Regions from separate parts of the Homo sapiens genome. Here regions 2, 3, 4, 5, 6 and 7 are each linked to region 1. The links are contacts of gene promoters, found by promoter capture Hi-C in blood cells and fetal thymus (Javierre and others, 2016). All regions are on one chromosome and are shown on one strand. Each heading gives the region's core, a stretch centred on a gene start or on the middle of the fragment in contact. The rest is flanking DNA. Distances are from core to core; before and after follow the strand shown.

The links. Contacts are between HindIII fragments. The CHiCAGO score rates a contact against its expected background, and 5 or more counts as called.
Region 2: a contact is called between a fragment that was not itself captured here and the fragment with the promoter of WWOX in region 1, in 3 of 17 cell types (total B cells, naive B cells and non-activated CD4 T cells). The highest score is 9.5, in total B cells.
Region 3: a fragment that was not itself captured here is called in contact with the fragment with the promoter of WWOX in region 1 in 1 of 17 cell types (total CD8 T cells); the score reaches 5.8 in total CD8 T cells.
Region 4: a fragment that was not itself captured here is called in contact with the fragment with the promoter of WWOX in region 1 in 1 of 17 cell types (monocytes); the score reaches 6.1 in monocytes.
Region 5: a contact is called between the fragment with the promoter of ADAT1 here and the fragment with the promoter of WWOX in region 1, in 1 of 17 cell types (monocytes). The highest score is 5.8, in monocytes.
Region 6: a fragment that was not itself captured here is called in contact with the fragment with the promoter of WWOX in region 1 in 7 of 17 cell types (total CD8 T cells, activated CD4 T cells, naive CD8 T cells and 4 more); the score reaches 9.6 in total CD8 T cells.
Region 7: a contact is called between the fragment with the promoter of TERF2IP here and the fragment with the promoter of WWOX in region 1, in 15 of 17 cell types (naive CD4 T cells, total CD8 T cells, activated CD4 T cells and 12 more). The highest score is 35.6, in naive CD4 T cells.

Annotation. Positions count from the first base shown.
Region 1 is chr16:78,098,404-78,102,414 of GRCh38, forward strand. WWOX (WW domain containing oxidoreductase) reads left to right here and starts at 1,251. Exons shown (of 9, transcript NM_016373.4): 1 at 1,251-1,482. The coding sequence starts at 1,376. RefSeq lists an enhancer at 1,485-1,984. The HindIII fragment of the contact is 3,217 bases long and covers 1-2,520 here.
Region 2 is chr16:80,679,425-80,683,435 of GRCh38, forward strand. The region is part of intron 2 of CDYL2 (chromodomain Y like 2); the gene reads right to left. Among named protein-coding and RNA genes, the nearest start is that of LINC01227, 110 kb to the left of the region's middle. The HindIII fragment of the contact is 708 bases long and covers 1,282-1,989 here.
Region 3 is chr16:80,660,094-80,664,104 of GRCh38, forward strand. The region is part of intron 2 of CDYL2 (chromodomain Y like 2); the gene reads right to left. Among named protein-coding and RNA genes, the nearest start is that of LINC01227, 89 kb to the left of the region's middle. The HindIII fragment of the contact is 508 bases long and covers 1,497-2,004 here.
Region 4 is chr16:75,555,875-75,559,885 of GRCh38, forward strand. It overlaps TMEM231 (transmembrane protein 231), which reads right to left and starts at 378. Exons shown (of 7, transcript NM_001077418.3): 1 at 197-378; 2 at 1-99. The coding sequence starts at 335. RefSeq lists silencers at 69-148, 439-548 and enhancers at 589-668, 699-808. The HindIII fragment of the contact is 1,045 bases long and covers 1,168-2,212 here.
Region 5 is chr16:75,621,084-75,625,094 of GRCh38, forward strand. It overlaps ADAT1 (adenosine deaminase tRNA specific 1), which reads right to left and starts at 2,198. Exons shown (of 10, transcript NM_001324445.2): 1 at 1,320-2,198. RefSeq lists a silencer at 68-362 and enhancers at 431-951, 952-1,471, 1,472-1,991, 1,873-2,112, 1,992-2,511. The HindIII fragment of the contact is 8,287 bases long and covers 765-4,011 here.
Region 6 is chr16:80,554,288-80,558,298 of GRCh38, forward strand. All of the region lies in intron 1 of DYNLRB2-AS1 (DYNLRB2 antisense RNA 1), which reads right to left. Among named protein-coding and RNA genes, the nearest start is that of DYNLRB2-AS1, 6.8 kb to the right of the region's middle. The HindIII fragment of the contact is 3,952 bases long and covers 298-4,011 here.
Region 7 is chr16:75,645,724-75,649,734 of GRCh38, forward strand. It overlaps TERF2IP (TERF2 interacting protein), which reads left to right and starts at 2,050. Exons shown (of 3, transcript NM_018975.4): 1 at 2,050-2,829. The coding sequence starts at 2,160. KARS1 (lysyl-tRNA synthetase 1) reads right to left here and starts at 1,942. Exons shown (of 14, transcript NM_005548.3): 1 at 1,855-1,942. The coding sequence starts at 1,916. RefSeq lists enhancers at 1,795-1,974, 2,014-2,971, 2,905-3,174, 2,972-3,927 and a silencer at 2,475-2,594. The HindIII fragment of the contact is 3,802 bases long and covers 1-3,557 here.

The DNA.
Region 1 (4,011 bases), core at 1-2,500:
TTTTATTTTCCTTCCTTCCTTCCTTCCTTCCTTCCTTCCTTCCTTCCTTCCTTCCTTCCTTCCTTCCTCCCTCCCTCCCTCCCTCCCTCCCTTTCTTTCCAGATTCTGGACCTATTCCAGACTTACTAAAGGAAATTCTCTAAAGGTGAGGCAGTTTTTTAAAGACAGCAGCTCTCTCTGTCGTCCATGCTGGAGTGCAGTGGCCCGATCATAGCTCACTGCAGCCTCGACTTCTTGGGCTCAAGTGATCCTCCCCCTTCAGCCTCAATGAGTAGCTGGGACTACCGATGTGCACTACCACGCCCGGCAAACTAAAAAAATAATTATTTTTGGTAAAGACAGGGGTCTTGCGATGTTGCCCAGGCTGTTCTCAAACTCCTGGCCTCAAGTGATCCTCCTGCCTCAGCCTCCTAATGTGTTTGGATTACAGGCATGAGCCACTGAGCCCGGCCTAGCTACCCTGTCTGAGTTGTGCCCACTACACAAAGGTGTCAGCTACATGTGATGTCTGTGCATTTCTGGCCTGGACCGCACATTAAGTGCTCCGTAAACATCAGTCTCTATTATCAACAGTCTCTATTATCAATCAGTCTCTATTATCATCAGTCTCTATTATCATGAGTCTCTATTAAACAACAGTCTCTATTATCACAGTCTCTATTATGTGTTTTGGCTGAAAGAAAGTTCTCTAAAACCAGGAAATCAGGAATCAGCAGTTTTAAGTTCTCCAGGTTATATTTTAACATTGTGTTCATATGCAAAACAAAGGTTGTGAATCAGCACGAATGCTGGCAAGCCCTGGAAGGTTTGTGATCACGGACTTTCACGAGACCCCAAGGCAAGGAGAGACAGAAGCCCAGGACAACAGCATGGGCGCCGCTTTTTAGTCGGGCGCCGCTTTTTGGTCAGGCGCCACCTGGACTACATTTCCCATATCCAATTGCCGGGCTCCTGCAGGATTGGCCAGAACAACGCGGAAGTGATTACGGGTCGCCCAGCAACGGGCGGAGTCCTGGCCCGAAACTGGATGCGCACGCCCCTTCCCTGCGGCGGGGAGGCTGACAAGGCTCCGCTCTATCTCTAGCGCCTCGGAGCGCTCTCCGGCTTTGCTGTCTAGCCCGGCGGCAGCGCGATCTCTTAGGCACTTTCACCGCCTTCCTCTCCAGGCCCTGCCCCTTTGACGCCGGCCGTCGCGATATTGCGGAGACTGGATTTCAGCTTCGTGGTCGGCGGAGCGGCCCCTGGAGGGCGCAGTGCGCAGGCGTGAGCGGTCGGGCCCCGACGCGCGCGGGTCTCGTTTGGAGCGGGAGTGAGTTCCTGAGCGAGTGGACCCGGCAGCGGGCGATAGGGGGGCCAGGTGCCTCCACAGTCAGCCATGGCAGCGCTGCGCTACGCGGGGCTGGACGACACGGACAGTGAGGACGAGCTGCCTCCGGGCTGGGAGGAGAGAACCACCAAGGACGGCTGGGTTTACTACGCCAAGTAAGGGGGCCGCAGTGGGGCCGCGGACGCACCTGGGACCCTGCACAGCCCACGGACGCCACCTGCGCGGGGAGGACGCGCACTCCAGCGCAGCGCGTGCGGTGCAAAGTGAAAGTAACTGTTAAGGAGCTTCAGGGAAAAGGGTCCAGGGTTCCCAGTAGGGGCCGGCCCCCTTGGTGGGCCTCGGGTCCAGCGGGGGTCACCTGGTGGCTTCCCGGCGCGCCCTCTGCTGTTCAGGATGCAGCACTGCGCGGCGCGGCGAGGGCAAAGCGGCCTCATCCCCGCCAAAAAATAAAGATGTTTTAAAAAGCGCACATGCTCAGCTCCCTCCTGCAGGCTCTGGGTTGCAGGGATAGGAGTTTTGTTGTGTTTTGTTTTGTTTTGTCCAGACCGGTATTGCTCAGTCATCCAGGCTGGAGTGCAGGGGTGCCATCATAGCCCACTGTAGCCTCTACCTACTGGGTTCAGACAATCCTCTCATCTCAGCCTCTTGAGTGGCTGGGACTACAAGCGTGCACTACTATGCCCGACTAATTTTTTAAGTATTTGTAGAGACTAGGGTCGCACCATGTTGCCCAGGCTGGTCTCGAACTACTGGGCTCAAGCAGGCCACCTGCCTCAGCCTCCAGAATTGAGATTACAGGCGTGAGCCACTGCGCCTAGCCAGGAGTATTTTTTAGTAGCAGTCCTAGATAGCTTCACTATCATTTCCTGGGAAAGTTTTGGAAACCCCAGCAGAGCCTTCATCTTTAACTGTGTGACCTTGGGCCATTGAAATAACGTTTAATCTTGGTTTTTTCACCTGTAAAATGGGTTGATACGAGGGTCAGTTCAGGCACTGTGCGTAAAGCACATAGCACCGTGTCTAGTAGGTACTCTCTGTTCCTTAACTGTCGTTCCTTGATTGCTCTTAAGATACGACAGTGCCTCTTATATCGGCACCTTAGAATCACCTAGGAAATGTCCTAAATACACGTTTTGGGTCTCCATAGAGAACCTACTGTAGCCGACTCTCAACTTTGGGAGTCTCTTTTTTTAAGCTTTCCAGGTGAGGTGGAATATCACCTGGTTTTGAGAAACATGGATGTAAATCTGATTTTCAGCATCTGGGAAACTTTTTTTGTAAGAGCCTTTTTCTGGGCCCCACTTCCAGAGGGTTTTTCTTTTTTTTTTTTCTTTTGAGACGGAGTCTTGCTCTGTCGCCCAGGCTGGAGTGCAGCGGCGCGATCTCGGCTCACTGCAGCCTCCGCCTCCCGGGTTCACGCCATTCTCCTGCCTCAGCCTCCCGAGTAGCTGGGACTACAGGCGCCCGCCACCACGCCCGGCTAAGTTTTTGTGTTTTTAGTAGAGACGGGGTTTCACCGTGTTAGCCAGGATGGTCTCGATCTCCTGACCTCGTGATCCTCCCGCCTCGGCCTCTCAAAGTGCTGGGATTACAGGCGTGAGCTACCGCTCCCGGCCTTTTTTTTTTTTTTTTTAAAGACAGGGTCTCGCTCCGTCGCCCAAACTGGAGTGCCGTGGTGCGATCTCGGTTCACTGCAACCTCTGCATGCCGAGTTCAAGCGATTCTCGTGTCTCAGCCTCCCGAATAGCTGGGATTACAGGCGCCCGCCACCAGGCCTGGCTAATTTCGCGCTGTTGGCCCGGCTGGTCTCCAACTCCTGGCCTCAAGTGATCCGCCCACCTCGGCCCCCCAAAGTGTTGGCATTACAGACAGGAGCCACTGCGTCAGCCCAGAATTTCTGATTTAATTGGTTTGGCCCCTCCCCTCTCCCTTGGTAGGTTGTAAAATCTTCCCTCCCAGGTGATTCTAATCTATGCAAGGATGTGAACCACTGCTGCCTTTGGTGGCAAGGTAGAGGAAAAACAACCAAGTTCTGATGAGTTCATTCAAGACACACACAGGTATTATGTGACAGGCCTTTGGCTGGCACTGGTTATACCGAGGCAAATAAGAGCCAGTTGTCATCCTTAGGACCCAATCTTATTAGGGCACAGTGACATGTGTAGGAGCGTCCCCACGCAGTGTGTATACCAGGAAGTAGTGTGTCTGGCATGAGGTGTGTGTAGGTAGTTGGGGGGGTCGTGAGGGAATATGGTGGCACCCTCACAGTAACCTTCACTTCCTGGGCTCAAGCGATCCTCCCGCATCAGCCTGTTGAGTACCCGGGACCACAGGTGTGTGCCTCCACACCCAGCTAATTATTACATGTTTTGTAGAAATGGGGTCTCACCATGTTGCCCAGGCTGGTTTGAACTCCTGAACTCAAGCCAGCCTCCCTCCCGAAGCACTGGAATCACAGGCCTGAGGCACTGTGCCAAGCCCAGAGCGGTGTTTTGAGCTCAAGTAGAGGTGGGTGGGGCAGGAGGGCAGTCTAGGTAGAGGGAACAGTGAGAGGAGAGACCCCCTGCATGGCCTGTCCAGGGGCCTGTGATCTTTGTGAGGGTCCAGGAATGTGAAGGTTAAGGCAGGGAAGGGAGGACCCATTTCAAGGATTTCTGTGCCTTGCCGAGAAGCTTGGGCTCTGT
Region 2 (4,011 bases), core at 386-2,885, 2.6 Mb after region 1:
TGGTATAGAGGCCAGCTCTATAGTTAAATTTGCAGTCAAATTGCCTGAGTTTCTCTCCTAATTCCAACCTGGACACTTGTAACCTCGGTCTCCACCTCTGTAAAATGGGTAGAAAAACTACCTCTCACGACTGCCATGAGGATCACACAAGGTACTTTGGAAACTCCAAGGCCTCATCTCAGGGAAGTACTTATACTCTAAAACTTTCAACCTTACAGCTTTTCATTTCACAAACTTTCTCTTTACAAAGTCTTATGAATGCCAACTCCAGGTGCAGAGCACAAGCACTTCAAGTTTCCTCAATACCACCACCTGGCAGGCACAACACCATCTGCATTTTCATCTCCGCCATCTTGGAGCTCATTAGTCTAGAGCAGTAGTTCTGAAACTGGGCTCACTGGACCAATAGCAGCATCTAGGAACTTCTGCTGGAGGTGCAGATTCTCAGGCTCCACACTACACCTACTAAATCAGAATGCTGAAGGTACACCCAACAGTCTGTGTTTCAACATGCCCTCCAAGGGATTCTGACGCCGGATCCATGTTTGGGAGCCCCTAGATTCTCAAAAGCCATAGGCCACTTCCCATTGCTTGCGCTTAGTTTCCAACTGCCTTTAAAACATGGTTATCCATTATAATCAATAAAGGGAAAAATGATAATCATGTTGAAAGAGTGAGTAGGAAGAGATAAACAAATGTTCTAGAAGTGAAAGCTGAGACGATTTTAAAAGATCAATGGAGAGAAAATGGCAAATGTTGCGTGTGTGTGTTGTGTGGAATGACTCGTTCAATGGTAGAGATAATTCTGCAAACACTGAATCATGCAATGTGTGAGATGCAACGTCTGTGCAGCAGACAACAGTCATCAAGATGCAAGGAAAGGATCTTAAACGTCCTTTCAGAAATGTGGACATGGGGCCACAAGACTGGCATCAACAGTGATGCTCATCACCTTCCTGGTAATTTGGAGAACGCTGCAAGTCTTTATGCTATTCTAGGGCTCAAAGAGAAACGATGGCTCCTAGTTAGGGACGTTTCACAGAGTAAAGGCTCGTGTGAATCCATAGAACACTGATGCTTTGGCCTGTTTAGACGAGTGCTAAGCAGTTCACCAAGGCAGAACCACAGCAAGGGTTAGCAAACCCACCAGCTTTTCTGTACCGATGAAACTCGCGTAGTTTTAGAAAAAAGAGAGAGATGCCTAGTAGAAACTGCAAGCAAGGCAGAGAAACTATGACAGGTTTTAAAACTTTGAAGGACCAGATCACATTCCTTCTCACAAGCTTCAAATCCAGGGAGTAAAGATGGATCTACCAACAGATGGATCTATGAACCATCTCTTACGACCAAACACATCTGCTGGAGCTCCTGTACACACCTGTGGCTGTTACAATTCAGCATGAACGTGCAGAACCCACCCCTCCAGCCCCCTGAGATCCTGATTCATTCAACTGGGATACAGCCCGTTTTAACAAGCTCCCCAAGAGATACTGAGGCAGATGGGCCCCGGACCACAAAGCCAGTACTCATTATCAGAGAAGACTCAGAATCAAGAGCAGTGTAGAACTGCTGCACACGCCCCACAAACACTGCTGGGGAAAAAGCGCAGTCTGAAACCAAAACACCACCCGCCGGAGCCCCAATTTAGCATTTGTTCCACAGTAGATCAGGGAAGTCAGCAGTAAATGAGTAACATGTTACATAAGTTGCTGTTCTGTATGCAGAACCTTAACTCACCAAAGAGAAGCTAAAACCATATAAAAAGCAACAGCCCACCCCCAAAACAAATGCTGTGCAACTGCAGCCAGGATCCCCCAACCCCTTCTGCTGGGCTAAGATGAGCCCTCCTTTGTGCTGCAAACCCCCAGTGCTCACCCTTGGGCCCCTGGAGACTGGATCCTTTAGTCCAGATAAGGGAAGGTGAGGTTAGGGAAGAGGGTAGAAGGAGGACATTCAGGGCTACGTGGGCCTGAACACTGGCTTCAGCAAAGCTTCCCTCTGGCTGAAAACACACATGGAAACACGTTTTGCTGGACTACACCTCTGGCCTGTTGCTGAAAAATTCTGGAACCACGGCATCCCCTGTCTTGGGTCTTGTCCAGGAACCTCAAACCACTCTCTTCAACACTCTCCTTCTCTCTCAAGCAAGGATTCTCAGTCTTTTCCTCTTCCCAGTTCCCCCAGACCTGGCTAACAAGCTAGTTCTGACTAGAAGGTGAAAGGCTGATGGTGGCTGGGACAATTATCACACGAGTGACCACAGAAGACGTCATTGTGGGTATGGTGAAGCCATGCACATGTATGTAATATGTGTTACTCCTTCCATGGAGCCAGCCTCGGGCGCCTTCTCAGCATGGGGCCAGAGGCCGGCATTCCAACTTCCTGGCAAGTTTCAGAGGGAAGCTATAAGTTTCAGAGGGAAAAGTCCATACCTATCTCTTCATTACTCTACTTCAAGCACCCAGCATGGTGAATAACTCTTAGGAAGTCATAAAAAAAAATCAGTATTGAATTGAATTAAATTGACACCTGATGTGAAACTTCAAGGTCCCACCCCCCACACATTTGGCCACAAAGCTCATCTCAAAATGCGGTAGAGTCACCCAGGAAGTTTGTTAACAAGTCCATCTCCTGGGCTCCACCCTAGACTTAGGAAATCAGATTCCATGGGATCTGCATCTCTCATCAGTTGCCAGATAATCTAATACATGCAGAATCTGAGAACCAGTGCCTTAACCTTACGGGCACCAGTGCTATGGGATGTGATTAAGCAAAAGGGCCCTTTTGAAACAGACAAAACAGAACAAAATAGAGGCCAGCATTGGCTCAAGTGGGAGTAGAGAACACACAACGTCAGGCAAATATGAGGAAGATAAGAGATCAGAGAGACAAGAAAGGTCTAGAATAGCATTTTGGAGCTAACAGGACAATCAACGGATCTCAACAGGTTGGCCCTCACCTGTTTTCCCTGCTTGTGGGGTACCATGCCTTATCACCAGGTCATGGACCAGGGGGCATCAGCAAAGCCGAAGGGTGAAGAGCACAGAGCTCGCAGCTCTGCCTCACCGCAGAAGATTGCACAGCACAAGAGGCACACCCTCATGTAGACCCCTCTATGAGTCTGGCTTCTCTCCTTCACACTGCAGACTGTCAGCTACAGTCAGCAAATCTTCCTCCCTCATGCTTTACTCTTGGGATTGCCCCATATGAGCAGGGCAGGGAGCTGCTAACAGCTGGAATGCAGGGAACCCCGCCAGAGCCTTGCCCCTGCACCCAAAGGGCCACAAAATCTCCCCTCGCCACCCTTCCTGAGACAGGGAACTCCGCCACCGCCAGCAGCCGTCACAGCAACATCAAACACGGGTGTTTATGCCAAGCCCCATTTACACGAGCCCACTTCTCCCCGAGAGATGAATTTCTAAAACAAACAGCTTTTACATATGTTCACAGGCACAGTCACGTCAGCGTCAGGGATCCCGAGACGGAAACGTGAGTCAGTCTGGGGCAAAGATGCTAAGTAAATCCTGTTTGGGTGAAATTCCTCTCTCTGGAGAAAGAGGAGCCTCAACACGGATTGCTCAGATTTCTCAGCAAGAGTACCTAAAGACAGCAAGCTCTTGCAGGGGAGCCAGCTCTGCACGTTCTGGACTCCAAATCTACCATCGTCACACTGAAGTGTGTTGGCCTCATCACCCCAACCTTCTGTGAGCCCTTCTAACCATTCCCCCTGCATCCAAGCATCCCGGTCTCCACACGCACCCTGGTTTCATCAGGGAATCTGATGGCCCTGCCCTGTTGGGCAATGGTTGTCCACACTCCTGTAAGATTTCTGGACATTCCAAGGCTCGGGTCTCTGGCAGCCAAAGAGACAAATGCCACCAGGTAGACACACAGGTGTCTGAGAAGTGAGGGACTGCACATAACTGGCACAAGCAGCTAACCTGAAAGACTGATGCCATGAAGGACTCAGGTAAGGGGCAATGTGACCACACAGGAAATCTCATGTTTGGG
Region 3 (4,011 bases), core at 501-3,000, 2.6 Mb after region 1:
AGCAGCATTTAAAGGACCACATAAATGGACATTTTCAGGTGTTCTAACACCAAGAAAATTTATCTACCACAGACTCTAAAAAAATTAAGAGAAACTTAGCAAATCAAAAATTTAATTCAGAGGAAGACACGGGTAAAAAAATAGATTTTTAAAATTTTAGTAAATGTAATTACTGGCTGTGAAAATAATAATCAATGGTGTTTAATAATGTTGGGTGTATAAAATAATAGTAAGATGTGGAAGAGACATGTTCAATGACAACTGAAAGCCAAGCAGAAGGAAGCATCTTGCCAAATTCAGTAAGAGGACATCATATTTGTTAGAAAAAGATCATACTTTAGTATGTGTGCTGAAGTTTAAAAATACAATCTACAGCTAGCTTCTGAGTCAGCCCAAGGAGAAGGAATGTATAAAATGTATCAATCCAGTGAAAAGCATTAAAAGGTCAGAAAATAGGAATGAGAGAGGGAACAGAGAACAAGAATGGGTAAAAATAAAATGCTACCTAAAATAGGAGAAATAATCCAAATATCTCAATAATTACATTATTCTGTGAACATATTAAACTCATATTAAAAGACAGAGATAATCACACTGGATAAAATAATAAAGATGTGTGTAAGATTTCCTGAGGAGAAACTCTGAGACAGAAAGAGGGATCTCAACTCAGCAAAGAGGGGAAGAAAAACTGCCCAATCAATAGAGAAATGCCAGAAGGATCCCAGGGGAATCAAGAAATGGTGCACAGTGGTCTACATGCAGCAACAAAAGGTGTCAGGGAATTCACTGCAGTGTGCAAGACACAGAAGGAAAGATAGAAACTTGTCATTAAAGATACAGGGGCAGCTGCCCCTGAGCTAGGGGTAAGCTGTCTGAGAGGGCAGGAAGTGGAGGGCTGGGGTTGGGGTGAGGCCACAGAGCCTGAGACAGACAAGGACAGACCGTAGGGCACTTCTACCATGCAAATAAGTTTTCAGAAAACACAGCCACTCCTGGCAGGGCACAGGAACCATGTCCAAGTTCTCCACCAAGAACATTTCAAACCCCAGGTACAGAACACCACCACATTCCCTTCAGGCCTGGAGGAAGGGAGGAAAAGTTTAGACAGATCGCTGAAGGATGCTATCCCCAATTGAGGGATACATTATCCATTCTGGTTCCTCACTTAACACAGCCATCCTCAGAAACCAGGGTGGCTCCTTGATTATTATGGGCAGCTGGAGTAGAAGTGATCTACACCTGCCCCCACAACAGTGTGAAATGGAGACTCCAAGTGTCACTTTGGCATATTCCCCAGAGTCCTTTCTCTCAACTATGCAATACTCACAAGTTGCTGAGTGCCTACTATGGGATTCACACAGGTTGTCTCATTCCATCCTCATCACGACCCTGTAGGACACTGTTTACATCCCCATTTTAAGGATGAGAAAACCAAAACCCAAGGCCATGCCACTGGGAAGTGCCAGCATGAGGGTCAAACTCCAGCATCTTGACCAAGCTTGATGCTGGATTCGAGCATCAAGACACTGAAACTAGCCCTGGTCTCAGGCCCTCTTCATGGTGTTGGCTCTGATGGATGTTCTGCTTTTGTTTTCCAGAGCCTAGTCTTTGCTGAACAAAGGAGGAAAGAAAATGTGGATGCCACATCTGATTCCTGTGTCATGTGATGCTTTACCAAGCAGAGCTCATTTCACTATGTTATCATCATCCATACACCTGCTTGAAGACCCTACCAGACTGTGGCCTCTTGAGGGATAAGCCTGAGATGTATTCACCTGTGTGTCTGCAACACAGAGCGCAGTGCCTAGAGGACACCGCATGCTTAACCCAGTGTTCATCCAATGACTGCATGAGCAAACAATCAGGTGGGGGAACTCACTCCAGCAATCACAACATACCCCACGCCAAATTCTTAATAATGTTCCTAGTATGTTCCTAGTGGTGCATTCCGTATTCACCTCACTCACAGATCATGAAGTCTCCATGTGTCAAACATGCTTGCAAAGCTTTGTATTGGCCTCATACGTGAAAACACTTGTTTTCTGCAATCCAGTTGATCTCACACCTAGATGACTAACTCGTATTTATATCACATCTGGCGCTCTGAGTGAGATCCCACCTCTCAAAGACACCCAAGGAGAGAACACAGCGTGAGTGCTATGAATTTTCCTTCCATTGCAAACAAAATAGTAACACCTTGTGTGGCTTGAGACATCAGAACACAGAAGGAAGTTAGTGAGACCAGAGTCATTCTCCCTCCTGGAGAAAGCACCCTTCCTCCCTTCCCCACTTGCTAAAAGTCCCCTACTTTTTGATGGAGCTCCAGGGATATCTCTTCTGCACATTCTTCCAGAGCAGTGCATCTCTCTTCTGGTTGTTTGTACACCCTTCTTTTACTCTCCTTATTATCCTCTCCCATGTTCATTCAGTACATACTTAGTGAGTGTTCACCAGATGCTTAGCACCTGGGGTATACGGATGGGCAGAACCAGACATGGATCTGCCTTCAAAGAGCTTACAGTCTGATTCAGAACTTCCTGCAATGATGAAAATGTTCAATATCTGCATTGTCTAATACAGTAGGTGGAATCCACATATGGCTATTGAAATTTTAATTTTTTAATTTTAACTAATTGAAATATAACTCTAACCACCTGTGGCTGATGGCTACCGTACTGGACAGTGAAGGGAATCACACTGTAGGAAAATCATCATGGATACCTTCCACATCTTGACAAGGATTTTCTCAAATGTCTGGCTCCCTCCTCACCACCAGATGGATTCTTAAAGGCAAGGGCTGTTTTAGTTATTCATATACCTTCAGAACCAGCGGAGGCCCAGCACAAAGAACGACACAAGTCATTCTTTGTTGAATAAATGAATGAGTGAATAAATGAATAAACACTAGACTTACAATGGAGGACCTACAGAAGTTCTTACCTCTTGATCAAAAGACATAGGGGAAAAAAGCAAGAGGCTGGAAGATAGGATAAAAAAATTGTGGTGTTGGGGGTCTCCTTCTAGCCCCCTAAAAGACACAGGTGCAAAGCACTTTCCTTCCAGTCCATTCTCCCCAGTGTTCCAATCACTCTTATCATCTTGGGGAGCAGATACAATTAACAGAGAGAACAGACCAACCCAGGGGGAGTTCAGCTTGAGCACTTCCGGTCATCAATCATGTCAGGAGGTGAGGTGGAGGGGAGAGTTAAATAAAAGAGAAGACTCATCAGTTCTACAGTTGAGTGGAACCAAAAGCCCCTAGTCCCATGTACAGAATCCTTGCTCTCAGGACCTGAATGCAATAGCAGGGCTCAAATTCACAGGTGCATTCAAGAAAAAAAAAAATCTTAGCCACAGTTAACTGTCATCTGGCATGTTAAAATTATGCCAGATAAAATCCATACACTTCGAATTTTAAGAAAGTTTAGGTTCTCAGATTATCTAATCACTACATCCAACACCTCTAAGTAATCTTATGATGTTCACTGTCAGATGTCTAAATTTTTTTTTTCTTTTGAGACAGAGTTTCATTCTTCTTGCCCAGGCTGGAGTGCAGTGGCATGATCTTGGCTCACTGCAACCTCCGCATCCTGGGTTCAAGTGATTCTCCTGCCTCAGCTTCCCAAGTAGCTAGAATTACAGGCACCCACCACCACACCCAGCTAATTTTTGTATTTCTAGTAGAGACAGGGTTTCACCATGTTGCCCAGACTGGTCTCGAATTCCTGAGCTCAGGCAATCCACCACCTTGGCCTCCCAAAGTGCTGGGATTAGAGGTGTGAGCCACTATGCCCCGCCTAAATGTTTAAAGCATTCAGCAGTGTAAAGCATGAATTCAAAATACAAAACTAACCTGATTAAAAGGAACTTTTTCTACAAATCAAATCATGTCTCCTGCATTAAAACCCTCCAAGGCCATGCTAACTCCAAAAGCTCTATTATGCCAGGATCCTGGTATGTGGCAAAATATTCTGTAGGGTATCAAAGTATAAAGTGATTTCCTTTAAAATT
Region 4 (4,011 bases), core at 440-2,939, 2.5 Mb before region 1:
ACCCGTCGCTTTCGGGTCCGAGCAGGGCCACGAGCAGCACCTGGTGTTGGAAGCGCACGGTCGGCTGCTCCTCGTAGCTGCTCCGCTTCAGCCAAAACCCTGAGTTAAAGAGGGCGGTAGGGAGGCGGTTAGGGAGGCCGGCCCTGGCCGAGCGCGCCCGGGGAGCCTCGTGGCACAGCGGCCGGGGCAGGCTCACCGTGGCTCCGGAAGGCCACCAGCAGCGGCGGGATGTACGTGAGCGCAGCGGCCAGCAGCAGGAACAGCGCGGCTTTGGAGCAGAGCCCCGCGCGGTAACTGCGCTCGACCGGGTGAGAGAAGAGCTCATAGAGCGCCATGAGCACCGCTCGCAGGCACTCCGCGAGCCGGGGGACCAAGTTTGGCTTCTCCTGGTTGCCATCGCCTCGGTCTCCACGGCAACCGACGGCTCACAGAAAGGAGCCAATAGCAAGGCCGCACCGAAAGGAGCCAGTGGCGGGGGCGGGGTTAGCGGGCGTGGCGCTGCCGGGGACGGTCGGCCTAGCTTTTCGAGCTGTGTACGTTTGCGTAAAGGCTGGGCGGCGATAGAACGTTTCCGTGGACCAGAGTCGTGGCTGTTGTCTGTGTTAACATTTGTGTAAAATAAGATGCCCATAAAAGTTGACTTGAACACTGAGGAGGAAGAACTAAATATTTAAATTTCAACTGACATGGACACAAACAATGGTCACCAAGTCCCTAAACAGGTTGTGGGAGCCCCTTGAGGCGTTCATCCAGCGCTGTTTCGGAGAAATCTCTATTTCAGTCTACTCCTATACGTCAGTTATTGAAAAACAACAATCGCAAAAACAAGTTGACCTTTTTGTGTTCCTTGAGCCCAGTCGCAAAGGGCCCTCGTGACTGGGCCTCATGCTAGACAACATGTTACAAAAAGATCTAGGGTCCCAGACCACGCCAAAAAGCTTCATGAGACCTCTCCTCGTCTGTGCACTGACGAGTGGCCGGCTCTGGAGCCCAGGTCGTTGCTTCCCAGTCTGGAGGTGAATCCTCCATAGTCTGGTGAGTGTAAATATATATATATATATGTCTTTTTCCTTCTCCTCTTCCCATTGCAATTTGCTTATTATATCAATCTGCTTATTATATTAATTTGCTTATTATAATATCTGCATTGCCATTTACGTGGGATAAAGCTTGCTTACCCTTAAAGGTACTGTGTGTGTGCCTTTTCTTCTCCCCTAGCGCGTCTCCCGCACAGAACGAACACCTGCTTTTGTGTCATCTGTTAACCCCCAGTGTGGTTCCTACTGAAGTCCAGTCAGTCACAAGCCTGGCCGTGGTCCTGGACCTGGTCCTGGGCTGAGATCAAAGCCAGGTGCTTTTGCCCCCAGATTTTCTGTTGCTTCCACTATGCTCCCATGCAAGACAGACACGGAAACACAAATCCCCTGGCTCTTCCACGGATAGAGTGGAATTACTACAAAGCTCTGATGCACTTCGTTAACCCTGTGTTGGGTACAGCTCAGCCGCGAGTTTTACAGGAATATATGGTCCTCCCCAAAGATCACTGGCTTATTGCTTAATTGAATGCCTACACCCCCCCGCCACCACCCCCAACCAATATTTCTAACATGGTAGAAGGACTTTTTAAAAAAATCTATGGTCCACAGCCAATTTCTTCATCAAATGGCCCTGAATGGCTGGGCACGGTGGCTCACGCCTGTAATCCCAACACTTTGGGAGGCCAAGGTGGGCGGATCACCTGAGGTCAGGGGTTCAAGACCAGCCTGGCCAACATGGTGAACCCTCATCTCTACTAAAAATACAAAAATTAGCCAGGCATGGTGATGGGCACCTGTAATCCCAGCTACTCTGGAGGCTGAGGCAGGAGAATCGCTTGAACCCGGGAGGCACAGATTACAGTGAGCGGAGATCACACATTGGACTCCAGCCTGGGTGGCAGCGAGACTCCATCTCAAACAACAACAACAACAACAAAAAGGTCCTGAGTGGCTGAGCACAGTGGCTCATGCCTGTAGGTCCAGCTACTCGGGAGGCCTGGGCAGGAGGAAGGCTTGAGCCCAGGAGGCTGCAGTGAGCCATGAATGCACTACTGCACTCCAGGCTGGGAGACAGAAGGAGACCTTGTCTCTAAAAAAATAAATACAAAATATTTAAATATAAGTAAATTTGTTAAAGGGTCAGTAAAATGACATTTAAGTGGAAAGACATGATAAGCTTTGTGATTTGGAAAAGTCACTCTAATGACAGCATGTCAGTAGTGTAAACCAAAATGTATCTGAGACAAGTCTCAATCAACGTAGAAATTTATTTTGCCAAGGTTAAGGACATGCCTGTGACACAGCCTCAGGAGGTCCTGATGACATACGCCCAAGGTGGATAGGGTATAACTTGAGTTTATACATTTAGGGAGACATAAGACATCAATCAATACGTGTAAGATGTACATTGGTTCAGTACTGAAAGATGAGACAAGTGGAGGTGGGGTGGGGCTTCCAGACCACAGAATTGGCAGATTCAGAGATTTTTCCAATTGTCAACTGGTTATTATCTAAAGACCTGGAATCAATAGAAAGGAATGTGTGGGTTTGTGGGCGGGGCACAGTGGCTCACGCCTGTAATCCCAACACTTTGGGAGGCCAAGGCAGGCAGATCACTTGAGGTCAGGAGTTCAAGACCAGCCTGGCCAACATGGTGAAACCCTGTCTCTACCAAAAATATGTATTAAAAAAAAAAACATTAGCTGCATCTGGCGGTGTCCACCTGTAATCCCAGCTACTTGGGAGGCTGAGGCAGGAGAATTGCTTTAACCCGGGAGGCAGCAGCTGCAGTGAGCCGAGATCATACCACTGCACTTCAGCCTGGGTGACAAAGTGAGACTCCATTTCAAAAAAAAAACAAAAACAAAAAACAATAAGGGGTTGTGGAGTCTAATGTTTTATCATGCAGATGAAGCCTCCAGGCTTCAGAGAGAACAGATTGTAAATGTTTCTTATCAGACTTTAAGAGTCTGTTCTATTAATATCAGTCTTAAGATCTATGTGTTGATGCTAATACTGGTCAGCTGGGTCTGAATTCCAAAAAGAGGAGGGTATAATGAGTTACGTCTGACTCCCCACTTCCCATGATGGCCAGACTAGTTTTTCAGGTTAACTTTGGAATGCCCTTGGCTGAGACAAGGGTTCCATTCAGATGGTTGGGAGCTTAGAATTTTATTTTAGGTTTACAGTATACCAGGATGGGGTCATTGAGTGAGGGGTGAGGAAAAACAGAAGTCAGGGAGACCAGTCAAGAGGCTGTTGAGGCTGGGTGAAGTGGCTCATCTTAGCACTTTTGTCAGAGGTGTTTGAACCAAAGCAACTCCATCTCGAATAGGGGCTAAGTAAAATAAGGCTGGGACCTACTGAGCTGTCTTCCCAGGAGGTAAGGCATTCTTAGTCACAGTATGAGCTAGAAGGATGGCACAAGATACAGGTTACAGAGACCCTGTGGATAAAACAGGATGCAGTTAAAAAGAAGCCAGCCAAGGCCGGGCATGGTGGCTCATGCCTGGAACCCTGTCTCTACTAAAAATACAAAAATTAGCTGGGCATGGTGGCGGGCACCTGTAGTCTCAGCTACTCTGGAGGCTGAGGAGGGAGAATCAGTTGAACCCGGGAGGCGGAGGTTGTAGTGAGCCGAGATCACGCCATTGCACTCCAGCCTGGGTGATAAGAACGAAACTCTGTCTCAGAGAAAAAAAAAAAAAAGAAAGAAAAAAGAAAAAAAGCCAGTCAAAAGCCACCAAAACCAAGATGGCCTTGAGTGTGACCTCTGGTCGTCCTCACTGCTCATGATCTGCTCATTGTAATGCATTGGCATGCTAAACGATACTCCCACTGGTGCCATGACAATTTACAAATGCCACGGCAATGTCCGGAAGTTACCCTATATAGTCTAAAAAGGGGAGGGACCCTCAGTTCTGGGGAAATCTCTGCCCCTTTCCTGGAAAAGTCAGGAATAATCTACCCTTTG
Region 5 (4,011 bases), core at 948-3,447, 2.5 Mb before region 1:
GAGTCTGCATCCTCTACTCAACATTAAAGGACACGAGAAGGAAATGTCCTCACTACTCCAGTTTTCACTGGAAACGGCATGTAAAGGGTTGCAGACTCACTTGCTTTGGGCAGACCCTCACTGTATAAGGTTTATCTTTCTGGACAGATGTTCTTATCTGTCTTCTTTTTCCAGGCATTTTATTTTTCTCCTTTCCCCTACAGCAGAGTGTTTCTCTACCGCCCTCTAGTAAATCCCCACTGAAATGTTTCTCAGCAGTTACGTGTTCTCATAGAGCTCTACTTAAGGGTGTGGACTTTGGATTCACCCTTTCTGGGTTCTAATTTTGGCTTTGCCACAAATTAACTGTGATGCTGAATAGACTACTTAACCTTGCTGGGTCTGTTTCCTCATCTGTCAAAATAGTGATAACAATAGTATCTAACCTATTTAGATTATTGTGAAGATTAAATAATACTTAGGGTTACTGTGAGGGTTAAATAAGTAATACTTATAAAAAGCAATTGCTACTATGTTGAGCATAATTAAGGTCAACTGTGATTACTATTACAAAAAATAACATTTGATGATTTTCCTGGTTAATTTGCCTTGAGCTACCTGGTGGTGGGGGTGAAAGGGGGAGGGCTGTAATGGGCATAGAAAGCCATGAATTAAAAAACCATCAAGCAGATCCCTAGGATACTTTGCAGGGAAATCTCTCACTCTTGGCCCTATCAATGCTCACTAGGCACATCCTGATCTCATTTGGACTCAATTATACAAAAAGCTTCCCAGTAGAAGATGAGCTTGTGATAGACATAGCTAAGCACTGTAAAACCAAACTGAAGGCCGGGCGCGGTGGCTCACCTGAGGTCAGGAGTTCGAGGCCAGCCTGGCCAACGTGGTGAAACCCTGTCTCTACTGAAAATACAAAAAAATTAGCCGGGCGTGATGGCGCGTGCCTGTAGTCCCAGCTACTCGGGAGGCTGAGGCAGGAGAATCGCTTGAACCCGGGAGGCGGAGGTCGCAATGAGCCGAGATTGTGCCACTGCACTCCAGGCTGGGTGACAGAGCGAGACTCCCTCTCAAAAAAACAAAAAAGGCTTTCCTGAGCTCCAGTGCATGCAGCTTTTGAAAGATGGTATTGTTATGAATCCCCTGCAGCGCAACGTGCAGGCTCGCTACTGTAGTGAATGCTACTGGTAAATCAGACCACAGTGATTTAAAACAAAAATCTGCAGGAAGTGAGACCCTGTGACTTGAAAGTCAGAGGGCCAGGGCAAGCCTTGTCAAGAAAAGAAAGCATGAGATCCTAGAATCCTCGTTTGGAAGGGACTCACCTCTCATTTCTAGGGAGGCATCACAAGGCAGTATAGTTTATGAAGACCACCTGGCCATCGACCTGAAATTAAACCAGAGGTGCAATTCACAAACCTCGATAGGCAAGGCAGGTAGAAGTTGCCAGAAGAAACAGTGACTCTCTTTAAGATGAAGCAGCCCAGAACGGCATCATCTCACTCAGGTAGTGCGTCTGAATGAGCATGCACAATTGTTTAAATGAATAAATGTTTTGCTACACTGGGTCCATTATAATTCGAGCCTACACCCCCTCCTAGATCTTGAAAACTTGAAGAACTTCTTAGCTGAAAATAACAGCTCAGCTAAACAGGCATTTATTTGCCCACAAGACCGCATCTCTGAACAGTTTCAACAAGCTAAAAAAACTGACGTCCTTTCCAAAGAAAAGGAAGTCGGCTGCCAGGGGAGAAAAGGCTTCAGCGATGCTTGGAGGAAGGGACTCTGGTTTACGCTGGCTCCCTTCCTAAACACTTCCGGAAGCAGAGCCCCTTCCCGGCCGCTGGAGAAGCCTGGGTGGGACCCCGAGTCGGCCAGTTACAGGATAGGAGGTGCCAGGCAAGGCACTGAAGCCATGCAGTGAGAACAGCGTGAGCGCCTGATCCATTGGGTCCTGCGGCTGCCAGGCCAGAGGCCCCGCGCCAGGAGCTCTTCAGGCGCCGGCTGCTGACAGTTCCAGGCGTGGAGCGCCTTCCCACGTGAAACGCGTCCCGGAAGATACGATCCTCACAACCTCTTCCCTCAAAAACAGACTCGGCAAAGTTAGCCCGGATAAACCTGCCCCGTCGCCCCAGCGCCTCGCGGACGCTCCCCTCCCACCTTCAGGAAACGCGCCTAGAAGAAAGCGAGCTTAATCCGCCGGTAAGGCGGACGTGACGTCACAAAGCGCCGGTTCCTTTCGGCTCCCGCTCCCAGAGGCGCGCAGTGCATGCCGGGCCCTGTAGTTTTTCCGGGGAGTCGGTGCCAGGGCCGAGATTCCCGCGCTTCAAGTCCCGCAGCCCTGGCTGCGTCTTAGAGAGGCGTGAAACCGGATGATGGGAGCCGCTTGTTGGCTTAGATATTCCTTCAACTAGAATGACGTATCTTGCAGCACTCGGCTGAATTTTTTTCTTTTTCTTTTTTTTTTTTGAGACGGAGTCTTGCTCTGTTGCTCAGGCTGGAGTGTAGAGGCGCGATCTCGGCTCACTGCAACCTTCGCCTCCCGGTTCAAGCGATTCTCCTGACTATGCTGTATTTCTATCTGTAACATCACTGTCCAATAGATATATAATTCGAACCATATACGTAATTTAAAAATTTCCAGTAGCCTCATTAAAAGTCAAAATAGAAACAATCATATATATTTTATTTAACCCATACATCCCAAATAGTATTATTTCAACATATAATCAAAAAATTTTTTGAGATGGAGTCTCGCTTTGTCGCCCAGGCTGGAAGCGGCGCAATTTCGGCGCACTGCAACCTCCGTCTCCTGGCTTCAAGCGATTCTCCTGCCTCAGCCTCCCAAGTAGCTGGGATTACAGGCGCCCGCCATCACACCCGGCTCATTTTTGTTATTTTTAGTAGAGACGGGGTTTCGCCATGTTACCAGGCTGGTCTCGAACTCCTGACCTCAAGTGATCCGCCCGCCTCAACCTCCCAGAGTGCTGGGATTACAGGCGTGAGTCACGATGCCCGGGGTCGGTCTGTCTGTCTCATATATATATATATATATATTTTTTTTTTTTTTTTTTTTTTTTTTGAGACGGAGTCTCGCTCTGTCACCCAGGCTGGAGTGCAGTGGCGCAATCTCTGCTCACTGCAAGCTCCGCCTCCCAGGTTCACGCCATTCTCCTGCCTCAGCCTCGCGAGTAGCTGGGACTACAGGTGCCTGCCACCACGTCAGGCTAATTTTTGTATTTTTAGTAGATACGGGGTTTCACCATGTTAGCCAGGATGGTCTCGATCTCCTGACCTCGTGATCTGCCCGCCTCGGCCTCCCAAAGTGCTGGATTACAGGCGTGAGCCACCGCACCTGGCTGCCGAGTCTCAATATTTTAAAAAATACTTATGTTCTGTTCTGTTTTTAATGCGAAGTTTAAGAAATCTGGTGTGTGTTACACTTAGAATACATCCCAATTTGGATCAGCCACATTTCAGATGCTGGATAGTCACATGTGGCTACTGGCTACTGTAGTACAGTACTACTACAGTGTAGTGGGCAGAACAGGTCTAAAAACCTTTGGATTGCCGGGAATAAGTAATATAGCTGCCTGGATACTTCAGGGGCCTTTGTCACCCAGTAACTGAATGCTCTATTACTAAAAATGAAAGAATTCATTTTTCTTTGTTACCCCTCAAAAATTTATGCAACTTGCTCAACCCCATCCTTCTCTCTAGTTCAAAGGAAATGGGACATGGCCCTCCTCCAAGGCCAAAGACTTTGCTCCTCATTCCTCTCCAATATCTTTAATCTGCAAGTGACTGCCTCTTCTGTCTTTTAAGAAATATTCCAGTGGGGGTAAGGGGTATCAAAGACCTTCTTCTAGGGTTCTTTATCTCAGGGATTGGTATTACTAGCAATCTAGTTGCGTAACTAAAAAGTGAGTCATGTTCCTTGTTATCTCCCTTCCCTTAATCCCCTTAGTGCAATCCATTACCAAGTCCTGTTGATCTTACTTCCTATCTCTTGAATCC
Region 6 (4,011 bases), core at 1,024-3,523, 2.5 Mb after region 1:
ACTGGGCAGGAAACTCACAGTGGTTGTGTCACAGTCCTGCCTGTACCTTTGCATCCAGAGGAAACTGTGAGGCTTCGTTGGGGCAGAGACTGTGGCAGCAAAAGGAAGAATTTGCCAGAGCCACTTACAACAAAGGAGGATGTGATCTCGGGAAGTTTGCACCGCACCTCTCTCCCTTCTGGCACATACAACTTCATATTCCCTCTTGGATTCATAACAGCATAGTTAATGACCTATATCTAAAAGATGGCTGGACCTATAGACTGAAGATTCACACCCATCCAAAACCATCAGCAAAGCTTTCAATTCCTATGGGAAGTGCAAGCCTGGGTTCATATAGTGCTCCCTCTTAGTCTAACTTGCTATAAATTTTACCTGAACAATAGAAGAGCTATTTGCAGAGTCTCTGGAGGAACATATTGCAACCATAAATATTAATGATAATGAACCTGGAAAGACCAGCTTAATAAAATAGCTGAAAATGAATTTATACATCATTAGCATTATGAGCTCCCAAATCTTCATCTCTGAACAGCTGGACTATCCCAGTAGAGGATGAGCAGGAACCCACGTAGATCTCCAGAGCGGTGCCTCCTGCAGACCCTTTTACTGGGTATGTTCTGGCTTTTGAAATACATTACCTATTCTCTTCTAAAGCCAAAATTACTACAGACTAAGGCTGGACACTTTGTCTCCCCTCTTGGTCTTTGAAAAATTACAATTATCCCCAATTTGTGTTTGATATGGGGCAAAATATCTCCACTCTTTTCGTGTTAGAAAATAATGTAATGTCCTTGAAATGGAAACTATCACGTGTAGGTGAAATGCCTATAGATATTCATTCAACCAATATTTGGTCTTATATTCTTTGTTGAAAAAAAAAGACAAGAAAGGCCGGGCGCGGTATCTCATGCCTGTAATCCCAGCACTTTGGGAGGCCGAGGCAGATGGATCACCTGAGGTCAGGAGTTACCAGCCCTGCCAACATGGTAAAACCCCGTTTCTACTAAAAATACAAAAATTAGCTGGGTGTGGTGGCAGGCGACTATAATCCCAGCTACTCAGGAGGCTGAGGCTGGAGAATTGCTTGAACCAAGGAGGCAGAAGTTGCAGTGAACCATTGCACTCCAGCCTGGGCAACAAGAGTGAAACTCTGTCTCAAAACAAAACAAACAAACAAAAACACAGGAAAACATGGATCATATGTGGGGCATAACAGTTTTCAGAGAGGTATAATCTCTTCTAATGGGGGACTTACAAATATAAGTTGGTCTCTCAAATCCTGAGAATCATAGGGCTAGAAGGCTCCCTTAACATAAAAGCATCTCTAATAATGGAAACTCAGGCATTCCCTGAGCAGTTTGGACTACATAAGGTTCAAAGTCTTCTCTGGTATGTTTCTTGTCCAAGATTTGACATAGAGGGTTAGCCGTGCACCCAGCCATTCCTTGAACCCATAGAAGAGAACACTGAATCTTCTTACTTCCTCCTGGCTTCTTACCCCAGGAAACCTACATTCTGTATTTCCCTTCAGCATATATGGTTTCAAGACTCCCTCTATAGATGTCACCAGCCTAGAACACTCCTGCCACAAACAGAATTGATTTTAAAATTCTCTCTCTTTGGTCAACTTTACAACTTGAGACACAATACGATACAGCTGAGAGAACATGACATCTGGGGCCTGACTCTATGACTTACTAGCAGAGCCAACAACTTTGAACCTCAGTTTTCCTGTCTACAAATGTGAAGAATGTCCACCCACAGCAGCCTTGAATTCTGAACTATACAGGCCAGTATAGATGCCAATTACTGTTATTAATAATAGCAATAGTGGCAAAATACAAGTTTACCACAATACAAGCTATTTAATGCATCTCACTGCGGCCTCTTCTCATCTTTAATTGTAAATATTAATAGGTTTACAGAGTGGTGATCCTGTGGGGCACAGTTTTGTGTAATCCCTTTCCTTTTCATTTGGTTAGCATTTCCACATTCCCAACCATAATTCATATTGATGTGTAATACCCAAATGCAGTTTCATCAGGTTGGTCAGTGGTAAAGACGTGGTCCAGGTGAGGCCAATGAGAGATGTTTCCTTAGTATTTAGATGTGGAAGACAGAGAGAAAATTTCCATGTGGCTTGACCTGTGCAGGAAAACACAGGTGCTGGGGGTAGCCGTGTGCTCCACATGGGAGTAGCAGAAAAAACCAGTTCTGAGAAGAAAAGAATGCTGCAGTTGTGCATTGTGACATGGAACGAGAGGTACAGTGTTCATTCCAGGGGCTCCCTGCAGTTTTCTGGTCCTCAGCTGCATTTTGGCACTTGGATTCTATGTGGCAGCCCTGAGGTCTTACAATAAGTCTTCCATTTTGTGTACACTGCCAGAGTAGGTTTCTGTTGCCTGAAACCAAAAAGACTTTAACCAACAATTTTGGGCTATATTTGGGTCGCCCCTGGCTGTTTTAATCAGACACAGTGGAGGAAGCGGAGCCAGCTCAGGAAGTGAGCATTAATCAGAGGCTCTGAGCAATGGGGTCATGGTCACTCCCTCCCTAGCTTCCAATATGGCCAGTCAGGAGGACAGGGCACTAATGGGCCTGTCAGGAGGTGGACTCTGGGGGACAGAGAGACACTGAGGTGTCACTCTCACTGGGGAGCAGGGACTTTAGTTTATTTCCACCTGATGAGTGGCATCTGCCTTTGTCATTGGCTACAAAAAGAATGGGCCACCTGGACTCTGGGCAGGTGCATTTCCGAAGCAGCACTCCAGGTGTCCGAGAGCGTCTGGAGTGGTGGAGATCCACACACTAGAAAAAAGGGATAAAGTACAGTATGGAATAACATGACTTCCTACTCTCCCCTGTTTCCAGAAGGCAGTGAGGTACAGAAGAAAGGACACTTTTTTATAGCCAGACAGGTCTGTCTTTGGCTCACAGCCCGGCCATCAATAGTAAAAATAACAAGAAGAACAGCAGCGGCAACAGCTAACATTTGTTGATCATTTACTATGTGACAGGCACATTAAATCCTCACAACAGTCTCATTTTACAGATAAGAACACCAAGGCATAGAAAAGTTTCACAGATTGCCCAAGGTCAATCAAGCTCTTAAATGTCAAAGGAGGCACCCAAACCCCAATACTTGACTCCAGCACACACTGGTAGCCACTCCTTTACATGGCATATTCACCAGACAGCTGGCAAGGAAATTAACCTCTCTGACCTCAGAATCCTCACCTGTAAAATACTGGCCGTGAATCCTGCACTGTAGGTTGTTAGGAGACTAAAAAAAAATCATAGAAAGCATCTGACATTTTGTAGATGTTCAACAATTATTGCTATTATCATCATCACCATCATCAATGCTATCTGGAGAACCAATAAGTGCTGAGAGATGACCACCATGGCTGTTATGTTATCACTGTAAATATAATCAATATCATAATTTTGACACTTAACAATATCTGATGGGGTTCACCTGACAGAGAAGTTACTCCTAATCTTTTCATCAAAGCCCCTCAGATCTCCAGCAACCAACCATCCATATGGATCAACAGGATTTCAGATCACCATTCCATTCATGGAACATCCTCATATCTGGAATTGCCAAAAGGATTAACTTTCCCATCGAGAATACATCTACTATTCTGTGTGTTCACCAAGCCTACACTTTATCCCATTATGTCTACACATAAAACTAGTTTGTTCTATGATTTATCCTCCTCCCACTGTCTATACTTATAACCAGTTTGAAACATTCCTTCTTCCCCTGTCCCCATTCTGCCTATACATATAGCCAGCTTTTCTATTTTGTCTAGATTGGTTGACTAATTCAATCCATCAGACTGATTTTCTGTTCTGTATTGACTAACTACATTGACTCAACAATCAAGAGAAGGTGAATTGGTTGTGCTTTTTTTTTTTTTTTTTTTTTTTTTTTGAGACGGAGTCTCGCTCTGCCACCCAGGCTGGAGTGCAGTGGCGCGATCTCAGCTCACTGCAAGCTCC
Region 7 (4,011 bases), core at 800-3,299, 2.5 Mb before region 1:
GTAGTCCCAGGTACTTGGGAGGCTGAAGCACCAGAATTGCTTGAACCCGGGAGTTGCAAGTTGCCGTGGGCTGAAATCGCACCGCTGCAATCCAGCCGGGGCAACAACGACTCTGCCTCCAAAAAAAAAAAAAAAAAAAAAAAGTCAGTAAAGAGGAATTAACCAGTTTTTTCCGTTTACCTAAAAACACACTCTGAACTGGAAACCGTGCTTTCACCTGTGATATACAGTCCTAAAGTTCAATTCAATGTAATTGATTATCATAGGTGGTTTGAAAGAATGAACTAAACTTTAGGATCGTATATCACAGATATACCACATTCAATTAAATTTGACTTAATAAAGTCAAGTCAATTTTCTCTAAGGTAGCAGTCCAAAGACCAGGTTCCAAACTTTTATGGAAGTCCATCGGATTGCTCTAATAAAGGACAATATATTAAGGTCCTACCCAACTATAAACTTCGACAATTTCTCTTATACTTTTTCTAAGATATTTGAAGCACAAAGCCAGGGACACAAAAGGAAACATCAGGCCAGGGGTGGTGGCTCAGGCTCACGCCTGTCATCCCAGCACTTTGGGAGGCCAAGGTGGGCGGATCACAAGGTAACGAGATTGAGACCATCCTGCCCAACATGGTGAAACCCTGTCTCTACTAAAAATACAAAAATTGGCCAGCCATGGTGGCACACGCCTGTAATCCCAGCTACTCGGGAGGCTGAGGCAGGAGAATCGCTTGAACCCTGGCAGCGAAGGTTGCAGTGAGCTGAGATCGCGCCACTGCACTCCAGCCTGGCGACAGAGCGAGACTCCATCTTAAAAAAAAAAAAAAAGAAACATCATTTCTCTTTTCTTTTTCATTCAGGGTCTGGCTCCGTCTCAGTAACTCCTTGGGGAAAGCGATGGAGAAGGGCTCGCTCACGCAGCACTTCTGGCAGTCCCTGAAGGACCACTACCTCAAGTCTCCCAGGCTGGAGTGCAGTGGCACGACTTCAGCACACTGCAACCTCCGCCTCCTGGGTTAAAGCGATTCTCCTGCCTCAGTCTCCCGAGTAGCTGGGATAACAAGTGCGCGCCACGGGGATTAAGCCCTCTCGTATGCCTCTGGAATGGTACTATGTACCATCTTCCTAGCAATGATAAAACACTCAATTACCTGTGTTCTGTGGTTCAAATGGGGAACGCTAATGAGAATATAAGACAGCCAGTTAAAGGGTGGCTAATCCTGACTTATCTATGTTAACCTACATACTCCAGGGATTTGGGAGTGGTTAACAAAGATATCAGGCTGAATTAAGATGGTCTCTACTGTTAGACGTTGATCACTTAATACTCACAGGTATCTACTGAATAACCCATACGGGTAGATGCATGACAGTTTTAGAACTGATCCCTTTTAATACATAACGTTCAGAATGACCTTAGTGAGGCCCAGAAAATTTTGAAGGTCTTTCTGAAAAGCTAGGGTATTTAACATTTCTCCAACTTCCACGTTTACTGAGTGGCTCAACAAAAGAATGCATTTCTCAGAAAGGAGGATGAAGCTAAGCAGGAAGTTTCGCTTTTCTTTTCTGATAACTCTTAGTTCTCGTCCTAGTTCCTCCTCCACAGTCTCTTAACTCTAGGAGTATGATAGGGAGCATCCCGCCGGTGCCAGCTGGGAACGGGGAGCCGGCGTGCCCGGGGTATCCCGGGGTACGTGGTCTGCAGGGCGCAGCCACCACGTCTCAGCATGTGCGTACCCACGAGAGCCGGCAAGAAGGCCCCGGCACAGCAGCCTTGGTGGGAACCTCGCGGCGCTTCCCAGCCCAGACTCTCCTACCGCAAAGGCTTTAAAGACTCGCAGCGACACTCACTTCTTGCTCAGTTTCGGCTCGCTGCCATCCACTTTCACCTCGGCCGCCTGCACGGCCGCCATCTTCCCGGAGGGCCCGACCCAAAAGTAAGGAGGATAGTACGTTAATTTCCAGGTCAAGGTGCGAAGCCCCACCTCTTCCGGGGGAGAGGGGGCGGGCACTCTCGATGCGCCGCGGCTGCTGCTGCGCAGGCCCAGTGCTGCGCTTCGCGGCAGAGGCGTCTGCGGTGACAGCTCAGTCAGTTGAGCTCTGTGTGCCAGGCGCTCGCGAGGGGGTAGCTCTTCTAGTAGTGCTCGGCGTCAGACATGGCGGAGGCGATGGATTTGGGCAAAGACCCCAACGGGCCCACCCATTCCTCGACTCTGTTCGTGAGGGACGACGGCAGCTCCATGTCCTTCTACGTGCGGCCCAGCCCGGCCAAGCGTCGGCTGTCGACGCTCATCCTGCACGGCGGCGGCACCGTGTGCCGAGTGCAGGAGCCCGGGGCCGTGCTGCTGGCCCAGCCCGGGGAGGCGCTGGCCGAGGCCTCGGGTGATTTCATCTCCACGCAGTACATCCTGGACTGCGTGGAGCGCAACGAGAGGCTGGAGCTGGAGGCCTATCGGCTGGGCCCCGCCTCGGCGGCGGACACCGGCTCGGAAGCAAAGCCCGGGGCCCTGGCCGAGGGCGCCGCGGAGCCGGAGCCGCAGCGGCACGCCGGGCGGATCGCCTTCACGGATGCGGACGACGTAGCCATCCTTACCTACGTGAAGGAAAATGCCCGCTCGCCCAGCTCCGTCACCGGTAACGCCTTGTGGAAAGCGATGGAGAAGAGCTCGCTCACGCAGCACTCGTGGCAGTCCCTGAAGGACCGCTACCTCAAGCACCTGCGGGGCCAGGAGCATAAGTACCTGCTGGGGGACGCGCCGGTGAGCCCCTCCTCCCAGAAGCTCAAGCGGAAGGCGGAGGAGGACCCGGAGGCCGCGGATAGCGGGGGTGAGGAGGCTGAGCGCGGGGCCTCGCGGATATCTGCGCGGGTGGGGTTGGGATCTTTCTCCTGGCTGCCTGGCGTCCATCTTGGCATCTTCGGTAGCAGCGCTTGGCCCCGCCCCCTGTTGACATCCGGGTAAATTTGCACCATTTTCTTGCCTTCTCGCTCCCTTGTTGTTTATTATTGTTCTTTTTTTGCGATGGGTCTCTGTTACCTAAGCTGGTCTGAACTCCTGAGCTCAAGCGATCCTCCTGCCTCGGCCACCCAAAGTGTTGGGATTACAGGAGTGAGCCACCACGTCTGGCCTCTCGTCGTTTTTATTTTTTAATTTTTGAGTGGGGGCTCGCTCCGTCGCCCAGGCTGTGATGCAGCCGCGCGATCACGACCTACTGCATCCTGGACCTCCTGGGCTCAAGCGAATCTCCGGCTTCAGCCTCCCAAGTAGCTGGAACTACACTCCCGCGCCACCACGTCCCGCTAAATTAAAAAAAAAATTGTTGTAGAGATGGGGGTCTCGTTGTGTTGCCCTGACAGGTCTCGAACTCTTGGGCTCAAGCGATCCTCCCGTCTCGGTGTCCCAAAGTGTTGGGATTACAGGCGTGAGCCATCACACCCAGCTTCTTGGTCTAGTTTTAATTTACTTTACCATTGACTAGAATATTGACATGGTTCTATATTCAAAAGTTACAAAAAGTATATAGAAAATTCTCTCTTGGCCGGGCGCGGCGGCTCAAGCTTGTAATCCCAGCACTTTGGGAGGCCGAGGCGGGCGGATCACCTGAGGTAAGGAGATCGAGACGAGCCTGACCAACATGGCGAAATGCCGCCCCTACTAAAAATACAAAAATTAGCCGGCCGTGGCGGAGAGTTCCTGTAGTCCCAGCTACTCAGGAGGCTGAGGCAGGAGAATTGCTTGAACCCGGGGGGCGGAGGTTGCAGTGAGCCGAGACTGCGCCACTGCTCTCCAGCGTGGGTGACAGAGCAAGACTCCATCTCAAAAAAAAAAAAAAATTATCTCGTCCTTCCTGTCCACCAGCTACCCACGGGCTAACTGGCTTCTTGTGTTTCTTTTAAGAGATATTCCACAGACTCCTTTTTAAAAAAGATTGCTGTTATGTTCAGGTAGATTCAGTATAAAGGCGTACCAGACTTACTTTAATGCTCTGGCGTAACTGAATGCCTATGGA